Regions from separate parts of the Homo sapiens genome. Here region 2 is linked to region 1. Evidence: promoter capture Hi-C in human tissues and cell types (Jung and others, 2019). All regions are on one chromosome and are shown on one strand. Each heading gives the region's core, a stretch centred on a gene start or on the middle of the fragment in contact. The rest is flanking DNA. Distances are from core to core; before and after follow the strand shown.

Region 1 (7,266 bases), core at 220-2,719:
TTCTCTCATAATTTTAGGTTTCATCTTAAATGTCACTTCTTCAGAGGCTTCTTGACAGCACAAGTCAGGGCCCTTGTTAGTTTCATCACATCCATTACCTTTCCTTGATCACTTGTACCATCATCTGTAATTTATTTTTATGTTTAATACGGGTGTGGGATTTCTGATTTTTTTTTTTGCTAGACTGGAAGCTCTCAGAGGGCAGGAACCATTTGTTTCCCTGCCACAGAGATGTTCAATAAATATTGTCAATTGAATGTGCAAATAATCTCACTTAACCACAGCTATGAGGGATGCTATTTTATCCCCATTTTAGAGATGACTAAACTGAGGCTTAGAACAATTAACCCAAGGTCACAGTGAATTAGTGGATCCATGTGTCTGCCTCCACACAGCCTGTGTGTTCTTAATTATTGATCACTAAGCAACAGCTGCCTCTCACAAACTGGCAGGAAACTTCAACTTTTCCCTTTTATCAATATATTGTGAACGCCTTTTCTTGCTAATAAATATACATTTGTGTGCGTAATTTTTAATGATCCCATGGTATTCCATCGTGTGGATGTAATTTACATATTCATTTCCTTATTCTCACTTCTTCCTAGTTACAGCACTTCTTTAAGCACTTGTAATTTTTATTCCTTTGGATAAATTCCTAGAAGTTTACAACACGACCAGCTGCAAGATGGGGCAGTGAGGTGCTTGAAGGAGTGGGTGGGCTGCACTTCAGAATCCCGGTGGAACTTTTTCAAAAAACTCGTGCCCGGGGCCCCCCTCTCAGGAGGCCGTCGGTGGGCCTGGGCACTGGCGTGGTTTTCAGGTCCTCAGTGGTTCCGAGGTGCCAGAGATTGAGGACCACTGGAGTAAGCGCGAGGTCACGGCGGGTGCAAAGCAGAAGACGTAAAATCCTGACCGCCCTGGGACAATCTGCAACCTTGTCAAGCCTCCGTGCCCGCCTTTGTAAGGAGGCTGGGAGAAGCGGGACTTGGATGACCCGGACTCCCGTCCCGAGCGCTGGGGTCCAGGTTTGACTCCGCTGGCTTTCTCAGGCGGGCAGGGCGGGGGTAGGCAGCTGGGAAGATGACGTAATGTGCTCCCAGCCAGGCCTGGAGGCGGCCAGCGGTCGCAGGTGGAGGGTGGCCTGTTAACCCTTCACTCCCAGGCCAGTGGACGGACTTGCGTGTGGCGCAGATCCAACGGAGAAGGCAGCGGCTCCTTTAAACAAGGCGGAGAAGGTTAAGATGATGACCGGACGGCTACTCCAGGCATTCGCTCCGAGGCCGCGGGGGGAGGGACCTCACTATGCAAATCTGAGCTGCTGATCGATGACGCGCCATCACCCCACGCACCGCTTCGCTCGCCCATTGGCTGAGATGAGCCTGGTCCCATTGACAACAAACAGGGGGGCGCGCGGCCTGGAGGCGGGGCCGCAGGGGGCGCGGGCTGGGGCGGGGGAATCCCGCCCCGCCCTTTCTGTGCGGCGCCCGGGCGCAACGCAAACATGGCGGCGGGTGGCACCCGTCGGTGAGGCGGTGCCGGGCGGGGGTTGTCGGGTGTCATGGGCGGTGGCGACGGCACCGCCCCCGCGTCTCCCTGAGCGGGACGGCAGGGGGGGCTTCTGCGCTGAGCCGGGCGATGGACGACAGCGGCGAGCTGGGTGGTCTGGAGACCATGGAGACCCTCACGGAGCTGGGCGACGAGCTGACCCTGGGAGACATCGACGGTGAGTGGTGGGTGGGTGGGAGTGCGGGGGCCGCGCGGGGAGGAAGGGGTTACGGCGGCGCGCCCGGGTGCGCGTGCGCCCACCCCCCGACAGCCCCGGTTCGCGCGGGAAGAACCCCGTGCGCACGGTGCCCCCGGCGGTCCTCAACCCTTCCGGCGCTGCGAGCGTGAGCCCGACCCAGCTGCGCCGCTCCGGGAGGCCGTGGGATCTGGGGCGCCGCGGGGCCGAAAGCGGCGCGAGGGTCGCGGGTTCCAGAGCGCGGGGCTAGGGACGTCGCGGGGGCGTCTCAGGGAGCGGCCTAAGGAGAGCGCGTGGCCGCCGCCTCCCTCGCGCGCCCACACGCGGTTTCCGTGGTCCGCTCTCCCGCCGCCCGCGACCGCGCGTCGCACCTGTCACTCCCTTCCTGGCCGCGGGGACGTCTTTGGGATTCCCGGGGCCCAGCCCCCAGTCTCCGCGCCCCGAATCCCTGGGCTTCTCAGGATTGACCGACGGCCAGGTCGCCGGGTGCTCCGCGAAACTTTGGGCAGCGACTGCAGAAGCAAGTTGCTGATGAAGAGAGCAGTGGCGGCGGAGTGTGGACACATCTCTCCGGGATGGAGACCCGGGCGCTCCTGCTGTCACGCTGCAAGGGGAATTGAGCAGAAGAAATTTTGAGTTGTGGCCCCTCGGGTACGGGCTGGGGAGCGGGTGGCCTTTGTTCCAGCGCCTTAACAGCGGAGTGGAAGAGCTGGTAGGAGCCCAGGGATCCACTCTTAAAATACTAATTTTGCGACCACGGGAACAACGATTTGGAGAGGGTCAGCGGCTTGCTCAAGGTCACCCAGCTGGTTAGAGCCTAGTTCTTGCAGTTCCTTGGCCAGTATTGGTTTTTTTATACCCCTCCTTTCAAGAAAGAGTCCAGTTGACTAGGCTAGTAATCTTATTAACTGGATAGTTGCACTCTTATGTTTAGGCCCCAAAATGCTTTGTATTATTTCACTTCTTCCTCACAACAATCCTGTGAGATACTCTTATTACCTCTATTTTAATACGGTAATTAAAGAAGCCGAGGCCAGGAGATGTTGACTTATCTAAGGCCACTCACCTTAGAGAGCTTAGGCAGAAACACAGGTGCATTGTACTTTTCAGTTTTCAGAATGCTTTCATGTCCAGGATCTCACTACAGCCTTGCAGGCATGTATGATGGCTACATCCCCGTTGTGCAGATGAAGAAGCAGAAGCAGCAGAAGATTCTCTTTTGGGGGAAGAGATAAATGCAGCAGCTAATTGAAAAGGATCTGTTTGCCATTTTCCCATTTTGCTTTTGTAATATTTCTCCCCTTGGTTTGTCCTTGATTTCCATTTTGGTCATGTGGGCAGTGTGATAAGACCCTTAATTGAAGCCCCAGTTCTAACCACAGACTCTTTGCTAAGTGCTTCTAAATACAGAAATGGGTTAACAAATGGGGGATGGGGTAGGTGGGGGTTGGGAACATAGCAAGGGCAGCTAACATGTTTTGAGAACTTCTGTGCCAGACGGTGTTAAACAGTTATACACGTTAATGTTCTCAATCTTCCTAACAACCCTGTCAGGTAGAGAGAACTGTTATACTTGTCATCTCCCTCTCACTGATCCTGAAAGTGAGGCCCAGGGTGGTTCATTAATTTACTGAAGATTACACAGCCAGTAGAAAGTACTGTATGTCTATAGCTGCCTACCTGCAAGGGCACAGAAAGAAATTCATGTGCATTTTGCATTCCTATTCCATGATCAATTCCTATTTGTCTTATTTTGTTTATCTGATTTTTAAATTTAAATTTTTATTTATTTAGTTATTTTTTGAGACAGGGTCTCATTCTGTCACCCAGGCTGGAATGCAGTGGCACAATCATAGCACAAACTCTTAGGCTCAAATGATCCTCCTGCCTTGGCCTCCCAAAGTGCTAGGATTACAGGTGTGAGCCACCTAAATTTTTTTTTTTTTTTTTTGAGATGGAGTTTCGCTATTGTTGCCCAGGCTGGAGTGCAATGGCGCGATCTCGGCTCACCGCAACCTCCACCTCCCGAGTTCAGGCGATTCTCCTGTCTCAGCCTCCCGAGTAGCTGGGATTACAGGCATGCGCCACCACGCCCGGCTAATTTTGTATTTTTAGTAGAGACAGGGTTTCTCCATGTTGGTCGGGCTGGTCTCCAACTCCCAACCTCAGGTGATCCGCCCACCTTGGCCTCCTAAAGTGCTGAGATTACAGGCATGAGCCACTGTACCTGGCCGAGCCACCGTGCCTGGCCGAGCCACCTAATTTTTTTTAGAGACAGTGTCTGGCTGTTGCCCAGGCTGGAGTGCAGTGGCACAATCATAGCTCACTGCAGCCTTGAACTCTTGGGCTTAAGCAATCCTCCCAGCTCAGCTTCCCGAGTAGTTAGGACTAAGGCATGTGCCACCACACCTAGCTAATTTATATATATATGGTAGAGCCAGTCTCACTGTGTTGCCCAGGCTAGTCTTCAACTTCCAGGCACATGCAGTCCTCCTGTCTTGGCCTCCCAAAGTGCTGGGATTACTGGCATGAGCCACTGTACCCGACCCTGTCTTAATTTGTAATGAGTTTAAATTACCTAGTGGTTAATACTGTCTTTATCCCCACAGATTTCTGAATAAAATGGAAACTACCACCCTCTGGAAACTACCACAGTGGTTCAGTGGCTTCATAGGTCCATTAGGTTTGATCCCAGTGGAAGAAGATTCCATTTCTCTGTCCTTCCAGAAGACCTGGTTTATAACAGTGCATAAGGCTTTTTCTCAAAATAGTTATATACCGCACAAGGAAGAGGTGTGGCTGTTGTGTCACAGGAGACCTAGGGGCCAGGTTTGGGAAAAGTGGTTCCATGTCTTCAGTTGATCAACAAGTATTCAAGTGCTGGCTGTGGTTTCTGAGCTGTAAGGAATCGTGAAAGATAGCATAGAATTTTATGGCTTCATGGAGCTTGAGATGAGAAACTCTAGTGCCAGTATGGAACAGCTTAAAATTGCACAGCACAACAAGTAAAAGTCAGCAGTGAGGGTAGCTTGGTAAAGGCTGGCTTAGCAGGAAGACCACACCAAAGAGGTGGCTCTTGACCTGGGCCTTGGAGGACAAAAAGAGTTGGGCATGCTGAAGGTCAGTGGTCTGAAGATAAAATTATCCCTTGATTCTCACCCCTGTGTTCCCATTACTGAATGTTAGCTCCTTGAGGCAGAGACCTTCGTTTCATTCCCACTAAATTCTTTGAACCTAGAACAGTGCCTGGCACAGTGAGAGTGCCCATTAAATATTTGTGGAATGCCTGAGTGATCCAGTGATCTTGGGCTGGGCAGGATACTAATTGTCTTGGACATGGTTTGGAGTTGGATTAGATCAAGGAAATAGCCAGCCTGGATGCTTCTAGGAGCCGGTCAGGTGAGGAAGGGGAGAGGCAGGCAGGGTGAGTACATTTACTTCCTTTGTATGTGTATGGTGGGGATAAGGGGTGGATGCAACCTAGAGAGCCTCCAGGAGGTGCAGGCAGGCAAGGATCCATTCATTCCACAATGTCTGCTGTGTTCCAGTCCATTGGTACCCTTCAAGGATATGGGCTCAGGGAGGCCACATTCATTTACTCATTGAATGGCTTCTAAGTATTCATGATGGACAAAGGATAACTTGAGCGCGACAGATCATGTGTCTTCTCTCTCACGAAGCTTACATTCTTGATGGAGGAAATACAAGTTGAGTAAAATAAATGAACAGTTTAGGCAGGGCACTGTGAGCAAAATAAAATTGGGCCATATTATAGAGTGTGACTGGGCTAGCCTACTTAGATTCGGAAGTCCAGGGAGGCTTCTTGGAAGAGAGGTATCAGTGTCTGTTTTTCAAGAGATGCCGAAGTCTGGATTTTTATTTGAAATACCCAGATTTTTGGCCGGGCACAGTGGCTCATGCCTGTAATCCCAGCACTTTGGGAGGCCGAGGTGGGCGGATCACCTGAGGTCAGGAGTTCAAGACCAGCCTAGCCAATATGGTGAAACCCCATCTCTACTAAAAATACAAAAATTAGCCGGGCATGGTGGTACACGCCTATAGTCCCAGCAACCCAGGAGGCAGAGACAGGAGAATCACTTGAACCTGGGAGGCAGAGGTTGCAGTAAGCTGAGATCATGCCACTGCACTCCAGCCTAGGCAACAGAATGAGACTCTGTCTAAAAAAAAAAAAAAAAAAAATGCTGGACACGGTGGCTCACACCTATAATCCCAGCACTTTGGGAGGCCGAGGCGGGTGGATCACCTGAGGTTGGGAGTTTGAGACCAGCCTGACCAACATGGAGAAACCCCGTCTCTACTAAAAATACAAAATTAGCCGGGCGTCGTGGCACATGCCTGTAATCCCAGCTACTCAGGAGGCTAAGGCAGGAGAATTGCTTGAACCCGGGAGGCAGAGGTTGCAGTGAGCCGAGATCGCGCCATTGCACTCCAGCCTGGGCAACAAGAGCAAGACTCTGTCTCAAAAAAAAAAAAAAAAAGAAAGAAAGAAAGAAATACCCAGATTTTTATATGTTGGCTCATTTAAAAAAAAAGTACTATAGGCACCCAATAAAGCATGTGTGCTAGTTGATCTCTGGGGTCTTGTACTACTGCAGAACGTCCTGTTGTCCCAGGCCCCCAGGTTTCCCATAATAGAGTAAGTCTACCATTTCATTTTGTGTTATATATCTCTATTTTGAGAAAGGGCCTCATGTGCCATTACACACCAGGTCTTCTGGAAGGGCAGCAAGGTGGGATCCTCTTCCACTGGGATCAGGAAAGAAACAGTCATGGAGGTGACCTTTTTGCTGGGTCCAAATAGATGGGTGGCAGGAGCAGCCTGACAAGTATGTGGGAGGAGTTAGAACAAGCTGCCTTTGGAAATGAAAGTTTACTAGAGATTTCTTGGAATATAGTGTGTGTGAGGAAACAGTAGAAGATGAGGTCTGAGAGGTGAGGTGGAGCTAAATTGTACTGTAGATGCAAGGTGTTTTATGGAAGATAGGGAATTGTTGAAGATTTTCAAGTAGGGGGTGACATATTAATCATGGGTTTTTAAGAAAATTGAATTGTGGGCTGGGCTCAGTGGCTCATGCCTGTAATCCTAGCATTTTGGTAGGCCGAGGAGGGTGGATCACCCGAGGTCAGGAGTTCGAGACCAGCTTGGCCAACATGGTGAAACCCCATTTCTACTAAAGATGCAAAAATTAGCCGGGCATGATGGTGGGCACCTGTAACCCCAGCTACCTGGGAAGCTGAGGCAGGAGAATCGCTTGAACCTGGGAGGCGGAGGTTGCAGTGAACCCAGATTGTGCCACTGTACTCCAGCCTAGGTGACAGAGCAAGACCTTGTCTCAAAAAAATAAAAGAGAAAGAAAAGAAAATTGAACGGTGGTGATAGGCAAGGAAGATTGGAGGCAGGGAGGCCAATTAGGAAACTGTAGCCATCCAGGTGTGAGGTGATGAAGGGTGACAAATTTGGATGGGAAGTGGCCCTCATTCAAATACCTTTCCATGGCACTGAC
Region 2 (6,804 bases), core at 1,330-3,829, 420 kb after region 1:
CAGGGTTTCGCCATGTTGGCCAGGCTGGTCTTAAACTCTTTACCTCACCTCAAGTGACCCATCCGCCTCGGCCTCCCAAAGTGCTGGGATACAGGCATGAGTCACCAGGCCTGGCCTCAATATACTTAATTCTTTACCTACATTGTTTCTCCTGGCTTCAAAAAGCTTCCTGACCACCAAAACTAATCCTTGGAAAAGGACAAGTCTTCCCTACACCAAAACTAAATACCATTGTTTGCCTTTTTCTCGTACGTGTTTTTCTCTACCTCTAAAATGATTGCTTGTTCATGTGTTCAATGCACCGTAGAGGATACGGCAAGTGCCAATACCATAATCTTGCCCTCAGGGAGGACTGGGGAAGGAGGGCAAGAACACATTTAGAAAGGTATAATAGGCTGGGCACGGTGGCTCACGCCTGTAATCCCAGCATTTTGGGAGGCTGAGGCAGGCAGATCACGAGGTCAGGAGTTTGAGACCAGCCTGGCCAACATGGTGAAACGCCATCTCTACCAAAAATACAAAAATTAGCCAGGCGTGGTGGCGGGTGCCTGTAATCCCAGCTACTTGGGAGGCTGATGCAGGAGAACTGCTTGAACCTGGGAAGCAGGGGTTGCAGTGAGCCGAGATTGCGCCACTGCACTCCAGCCTGGGGGACAGAGCAAGACTCTGTCTCAAAAAATTAAAAAAAAAAAAAAAAGGAAAAAAGAAAGGTATAATAAAAAGCAAAAAGCAAAGATTAAAGGTGCACCAGAAAATTACAAACGTCATGAAGGAAACATCCAGTTAAGGGAATGTTAGATTTCATGGAGAAAAGTAACATTTGAGAAAGGCCTTGAAATATAACTATCTCAAAAGATGGAGAACAGGCTGCACGCGGTGGCTCATACCTGTGATCCCAGCACTTTGGGAGGCCGAGGCAGGTGGATCACCTGAGGTCAGGAGTTAGAGACCAGCCTGGTCAACATGGTGAAATCCCATCTCTACTAAAAATATAAGAATTTGCTTGGCGTGGTGGCAGGCGCCTGTAATCCCAGCTACTCAGGAGGCTGAGGCAGGAGAATGGCATGAACCCGGGAGGCGGAGCTTGCAGTGAGCCGAGATGGTGCCACTGCACTCCAGCCTGGGTGATAGAGCGAGACTCCATCTCAAAAAAAAAAAAAAAAAAGATAAGATGGAGAACAGAAAAGAGGACACGGACCCAGACCTGGAAATAAAGGCACCTCTGGGGACACCGAGCTGCAGCAGAGGATACAACTGGGGAAACCAGGAGATGTGGTTAGAGAGGCAGGGCAGGGTCCTACCATGGAACCCTGAAGACCAAGGCAAGGTGTCTAAATTTAACTCAGTACACAAATGAAAAGGATACGACAAGAGCTACCTTTCAGAAGATTTTCTGGCAGTAGTTGGGAAGACACTAGACCAGGGACTGGGGAAGAAAGGTTACTATTCACGAAGCTACAAGAGCTCAGGCAGGTCCAGCACCATGCTCATTTAAACCACTACCAATCTCTACTTCCACAAGCCTTGACCTGTCTCCTACTTGACTGGTTCCTCCGCATCTCTTCAAGACACCTCTCTTCAATTTCCTCACTTAAAATCACTAACTAGAAAGAAAAAATTAATAGTCTGTTCTACAGAAGTGACTTAAAAAGTGAATATTGTAGACTGATACAACCTTCTGGTTCATAGCCTTTACAACAAATATGTTGGCTCCTACTGTGTGTCAGGCACTACTCTAGGAAACATGGATGCAGACAGGGATGGAGTAGGCAAAGTTTCCATCCCATGGTGCTTACATTTTGTGAAGGAAACAGATACAAGACAAGACTGTCAGATAATTGCTGTGAAGGGAGAACAGGGCTGAGGGAGAGAGCACGTACTCATGTGGGCGCTGCCTGGGCTCAGGTGGGCAGGGAAAGCCTGTCAGTGTGGGGAGAAAGCAGCAGCCACATGGTGTACATTTTTACAAAGTATACATTTTACACTAAAAGGGAGAAACAGGTTTTGAAGCCACATAGAGTTGCATGCCAGCCCTGGCTCTATCACTTGGTGGCTGAGGAACCTCTTCCAAATGAATGAATCTCTCTTCAGTCTGTTTCTTTATCCCCGTTTTACAGATAAAATACTGACTTTATTGGGTTATTCTGAGAGAATTAAATAATGAATATAAAACGTGCACTGTGCCTGGTACTGGGTAAGGGATCTGTAAATATTAACTACTGATTTACTACATCAGTGATTAAATATACATAGAAATTATTTTGCTGCTATATCTAAACACTAGATTTAGCAAAAACTGTCTGCAATCAGTACCAATCATAATCCCAAATGCCATAATCCTGAATGTTAAAATCCCAAAAGACTAAAGTCTAAAAATCCCTAATGTTTAAAACCACAACCCCAAAAGATTAAAATCCCAAATGATGAAATCCCAAAAGCCGAATTTTGGGGCAGGGAATTTGCATAGTTTTGGTTGTACACAATAGTTACACCATGCTAGGTGGAACTATGACCTTGCTATTGTCATTATCTGGAAATTAAGTATGGTTTAAGGAGATGCCTATGGGTACCAAGTTGCCGAGGATAGATTTGTGGACTTAATTTTAGCTATCAACTTGACAGGAACACCTAGAAACCTGGTAAAGCACTGTGTTGTGTGTGTGTCTGTGAGGATGTTTTCAGAGATTAGTGTGCGAGTCTGAGTAGGCAAGGAGAGCCCTCTATGTTGGTGGGTATCATCCAATCAGCCAGGAGCCCAGGGAGTACACAGAAGGTGAATTGCTGAGAGCTAGAACAGACTTTTCTTCTGCTGCCTTGGACATCAGAACTCCAGGCTTGCCAGCCTTTGGACTCCAGGACTTAACCAGTGGCCCCCTGAATTCTGAGGCTTTTTGACCTTGGACCGAGAGATAACACCATTAGCTTCCCTGGTTCTGAGGCCTTTGGATTTGGACTGAGGTATGCTACTGGCATCCCAGGGTCTCAAGCCTGCAGATGATCTGTCATGGGACTTCTCAGCCACCATTAATCATATGAGCCAATTCCCCTAATAAATTCCCTCATATCTATACACATATCCTATTGGTTCTGTCTCCCTAGGGAACCCTGACTAATGCAGATTTGGTGTTGGGGAAGCTGAGTATCAGTTCTTCTTACTTTATTCTTTACAGCACAATTGAAGAGATCTGTGAAACTCTTCCCTCGCAAAAAGGCTCTGATAAGTGTACACGGCTACTTAATGGCGAAAGATAAAAGTTTAAAAGCTAATTATCACTGGTGCTGCAAAAGCAGAAATTGCAACGGCCAGGCAATAATCAGGCTTTCAAATAGACAGTATATACTTACAAAATTTGTGGATCACAACCACTTTGCAAATAAAACTGGAGCAAGTGCTTTGAAGATCGCAGAAGTGAAAATACAGGCAAAAAATACAAGAAATCTCCCCTGCCAAATTATTCAATGGTGTATTATTTCTGCTCCTTCACACATAGTGCCAATTTGCTATGCTATATATTTTATCTTCACATCATTTCTAATACTGGAGATATAAATTGTGTAGAGACTTTTGGAGAGTTCTAATTAATTCTATGCATTTTTTTTTTGCAAACTGAACTCCACAGAAGTGCATTATCACAACACTGACTTCATGTGTAAGCTCTGGCTGTGTTCATCAAAACGTAGAAGCCAGGTGTGGTGGAGCACCTGTAGTCAGTCCCGGCTACTAGGGAGGCTGAGGTAGGAGGATCACTTGAGGCCAGGAGTTTGAGGCTGAAGTGCACTATGATCATGCCTGTGAATAGTCACTGCACTCCAGCATGGGCAACATAGCTAGAAGACTATGGTCTCTTTAAAAAAAGTTGAAACTGGCCAGGCACGGTGGCTCACATCTGTAATCCCAGCACTTGTGAGGCCAAGGCGGGCAGATCACCCAAGGTCAGGAGTTCGAGGCCAGCCTGGCCAATACGGTGAAATCCTGTCTCTACAAAAATTAATAATACAAAAATTAGCCAGGCGTGGTGGCGGGGCGCCTGTAATCCCAGCTACTTGGAAGGCTGAGGCAGGAAAATCGCCTGAACCCAGGAGACAAAGGTTGCAGTGAGCCGAGACCACACCATTGCACTTCAGCCTCAGCAACAACAGTGAAACTCCATCTCAAAAAAAAAAAAAAAAAAAAAAGGTGAACCTTCAATGAGATGTCCTTTTTTTATACTGTTTTTGTGAAAGATAAAATTCAACAATATCTCTGCTCTTCAGGAGACTGCACACACAGTGATGACCCATCCTTGTTTTTACTACCTCATCAAAAGACCTAGTTTGTCCATCATGGTATTTCAGAGGACCACAGTTACAAAATGTAACACCCATGCAACTACGGTTAGTATACTGAGTGATTAAACTTGCAAAATACATTTGTTACTATTTTATTGTGTAAAGTGGTGTACTAGGCTGTTCCTGCATTGCTATGAAGGAATACTTAAAAGAAAAGAGATTTAATTGGCTTACAGTTCTGCAGGCTGTACAGGAGGCATAGTGGCACCTGCTTCCAGGAAGGCCTCAGGAAGCTTCCAATCATGGCAGAAGGCAAAGGGGGAACAGGCACATCACATGATGAGGACTGAGCAAGAGAGAGTGTGAGGTGCCACACTTTTAAAACAGCCAGATCTCGCGAGAAGTCGCTCACCGTCTCGAGGACAGCATCAAGGGGATGGTACTAAACCATTCATGAAAAATCCACCCACATAATCCAATCACCTCCTACCAGCCTCCACTTCCAATATTGGGGATTACAATTCAACATGAGATTTGGGCAGGGACACATATCCAAACTATATTAAGTGGCCTATGAAGTGTTGTCATGTTTTTGTTTCTCAAATAAATCCCCTTTAAAAAAGGTAAATAAGTGGTTTTTCTGTTTGTTTATTGAAGACAAAGTCTTGCTCTGTTGCCCAGACAGCGCCATCACAGCTCACTCCAACCTCTGCCTCCCAGACCCAAGAGATCCTCCCACCTCAGTCTCCCAAGTAGCTGGACTATAGGTGCACGCTAGCTTGCTAATTTTTGTATTTTTTTGTAGAGACAGGGTTTCTCCACGTTGCCCAGGCTGATCTTGAACTCCTGGGCTCAAGCAATCTGCCCACCTTGGCTTCCCAAAATACTGAGATTACAGGTGTGAGACTCTGTACCTGGCCAAACAAGTGTCTTTTTTTTTTTTTTTTTTTTTTTTTTTTGAGACAGAATCTCACTCTGTCACCCAGGTTGGAGTACAGTGGCATGATCTCAGCTCACTGCAACCTCCGCCTCCCATGTTCAAGTGATTCTCGTGCCTCAGCATCCCGAGTAGCGGGGACTACAGGCACTTGCAACCATGCCTAGATAATTTTTATATTTTTAGTAGAGACGGGGTTTTGCCATGTTGGCCAGGCTGGTCTCAAACTCCTGAGCTCAAGTGATCTGCCCACCTAGGCCTCTCAACATGCTGGGATTACAGGAGTGAGCCACCGCACCTGGCCCAAATAAGTATTTTTTAAATAATGTTTTAAAATTATTTTTTCCAGAATTATATTGTTTGGATTTCGATATTTTGGGATTTCAGTATTTGGGATTATGGCATCAAGAACTGTGTCTTTTAGGCCAGGCGCAGTGGCTCATGCCTGTAATCCCAGCACTTCGGGAGGCTGAGGTGGGCAGATCACCTGAGGTCGGGAGTTTGAGACCAGCCTGGCCAACGTGGCAAAACCCTGCCAAGGTGGGCAGATCACCTGAGGTCAGGAGTTCAAGACCAGCCTGGGCAACATGGCGAAACTCTGTCTCTACCTGTATTTTTTTTTGTAAAAATACAAAAAAATTAGCCGGGTGTGGTGGCACGCACCTATAATCCCAGCTACTTGGGAGGCTCAGGCAGGAGAATCACTTGAACCCAAGAGACAGAGGTTGCAGTGAGCCGAGCACCACTGCACTCCAGCCTGGGCGACAGAACGAAAGTCCATCTCAAAAAAAAAAAGAAAAAAATAAAAAAAAGAACTGTCTCTTTCAGAATTATGGCCTAAACCCGTCTGAAACAACTATTCAAGAAGTCTTTGGGAGAGCTAACACCTACAAACATAAACTTCGGTAATATTTTATAAAATATTCTTAAAAATCACCTTTATCCACACACAAGACAGTTTTAAAAGCTTTGGAGACTGAGTCCAGCTCTGTCGCCAGGCTGGAGTGCAGTGGCACATCTCGACTCACTGCAACCTCCACCTCCCAGGTTTAAGCGATTCTCCCGCCTCAGCCTCCCAAGTAGCTGGGATTACAGGCACGCACCACCATGCCCAGCTAATTTTTGTATTTTTAGTAGAGACGGGGCTTCACCTTGTTGGCCAGGATGGTCTTAATTTCCTGACCTCATGATCCGCTGCTCACCTCGGCCTCCCAAAATGTTGGGATTACAGGTGTGAGCCACGGTGCCCAGCCTTTAAAAGCTTTTTTAACTGAAACACTAGAGTAACAATCTTGGCATTTTTAAACGTATATAATTATCCCTATATATAAAACTATTTTAACAAAAATAACTATTTTCATACAACCATTTTAACTCTAGAATAAAAATACTGTTATAGTGAGATTTTTTCAAATATTTAATTTAGTAGAGTCAAATGTTTAACAAAAATAAAATATTATGAAGTATATAGTATATATTTTAATAAAAGGCTAATAAACTGAATCAGGTCAATAAGAGAAGCAAAATACTGGTTTATAAAACTAAGGCCTTCAAGTGACAGGGGGCCATAGGAAAAAAACAACAAAACAAAAACTAAG

Evidence for each region. Contacts are between HindIII fragments. The study calls those that stand out against the background at their distance.
Region 2: a contact is called between a fragment that was not itself captured here and the fragment with the promoter of SREBF2 in region 1, in 1 of the 25 tissues and cell types used here (spleen).

What each region holds. Positions count from the first base shown.
Region 1 is chr22:41,831,636-41,838,901 of GRCh38, forward strand. SREBF2 (sterol regulatory element binding transcription factor 2) reads left to right here and starts at 1,470. Exons shown (of 19, transcript NM_004599.4): 1 at 1,470-1,723. The coding sequence starts at 1,636. CCDC134 (coiled-coil domain containing 134) reads left to right here. Exons shown (of 7, transcript NM_024821.5): 7 at 1-529. SREBF2-AS1 (SREBF2 antisense RNA 1) reads right to left here and starts at 3,030. Exons shown (of 2, transcript NR_157279.2): 1 at 2,808-3,030; 2 at 1-2,345. RefSeq lists enhancers at 824-1,333, 939-1,595, 3,386-3,887, 3,888-4,387 and silencers at 1,374-1,713, 1,774-2,163. The HindIII fragment of the contact is 7,421 bases long and covers 1-2,666 here.
Region 2 is chr22:42,246,293-42,253,096 of GRCh38, forward strand. All of the region lies in intron 1 of TCF20 (transcription factor 20), which reads right to left. Among named protein-coding and RNA genes, the nearest start is that of TCF20, 21 kb to the right of the region's middle. The HindIII fragment of the contact is 5,575 bases long and covers 1-5,367 here.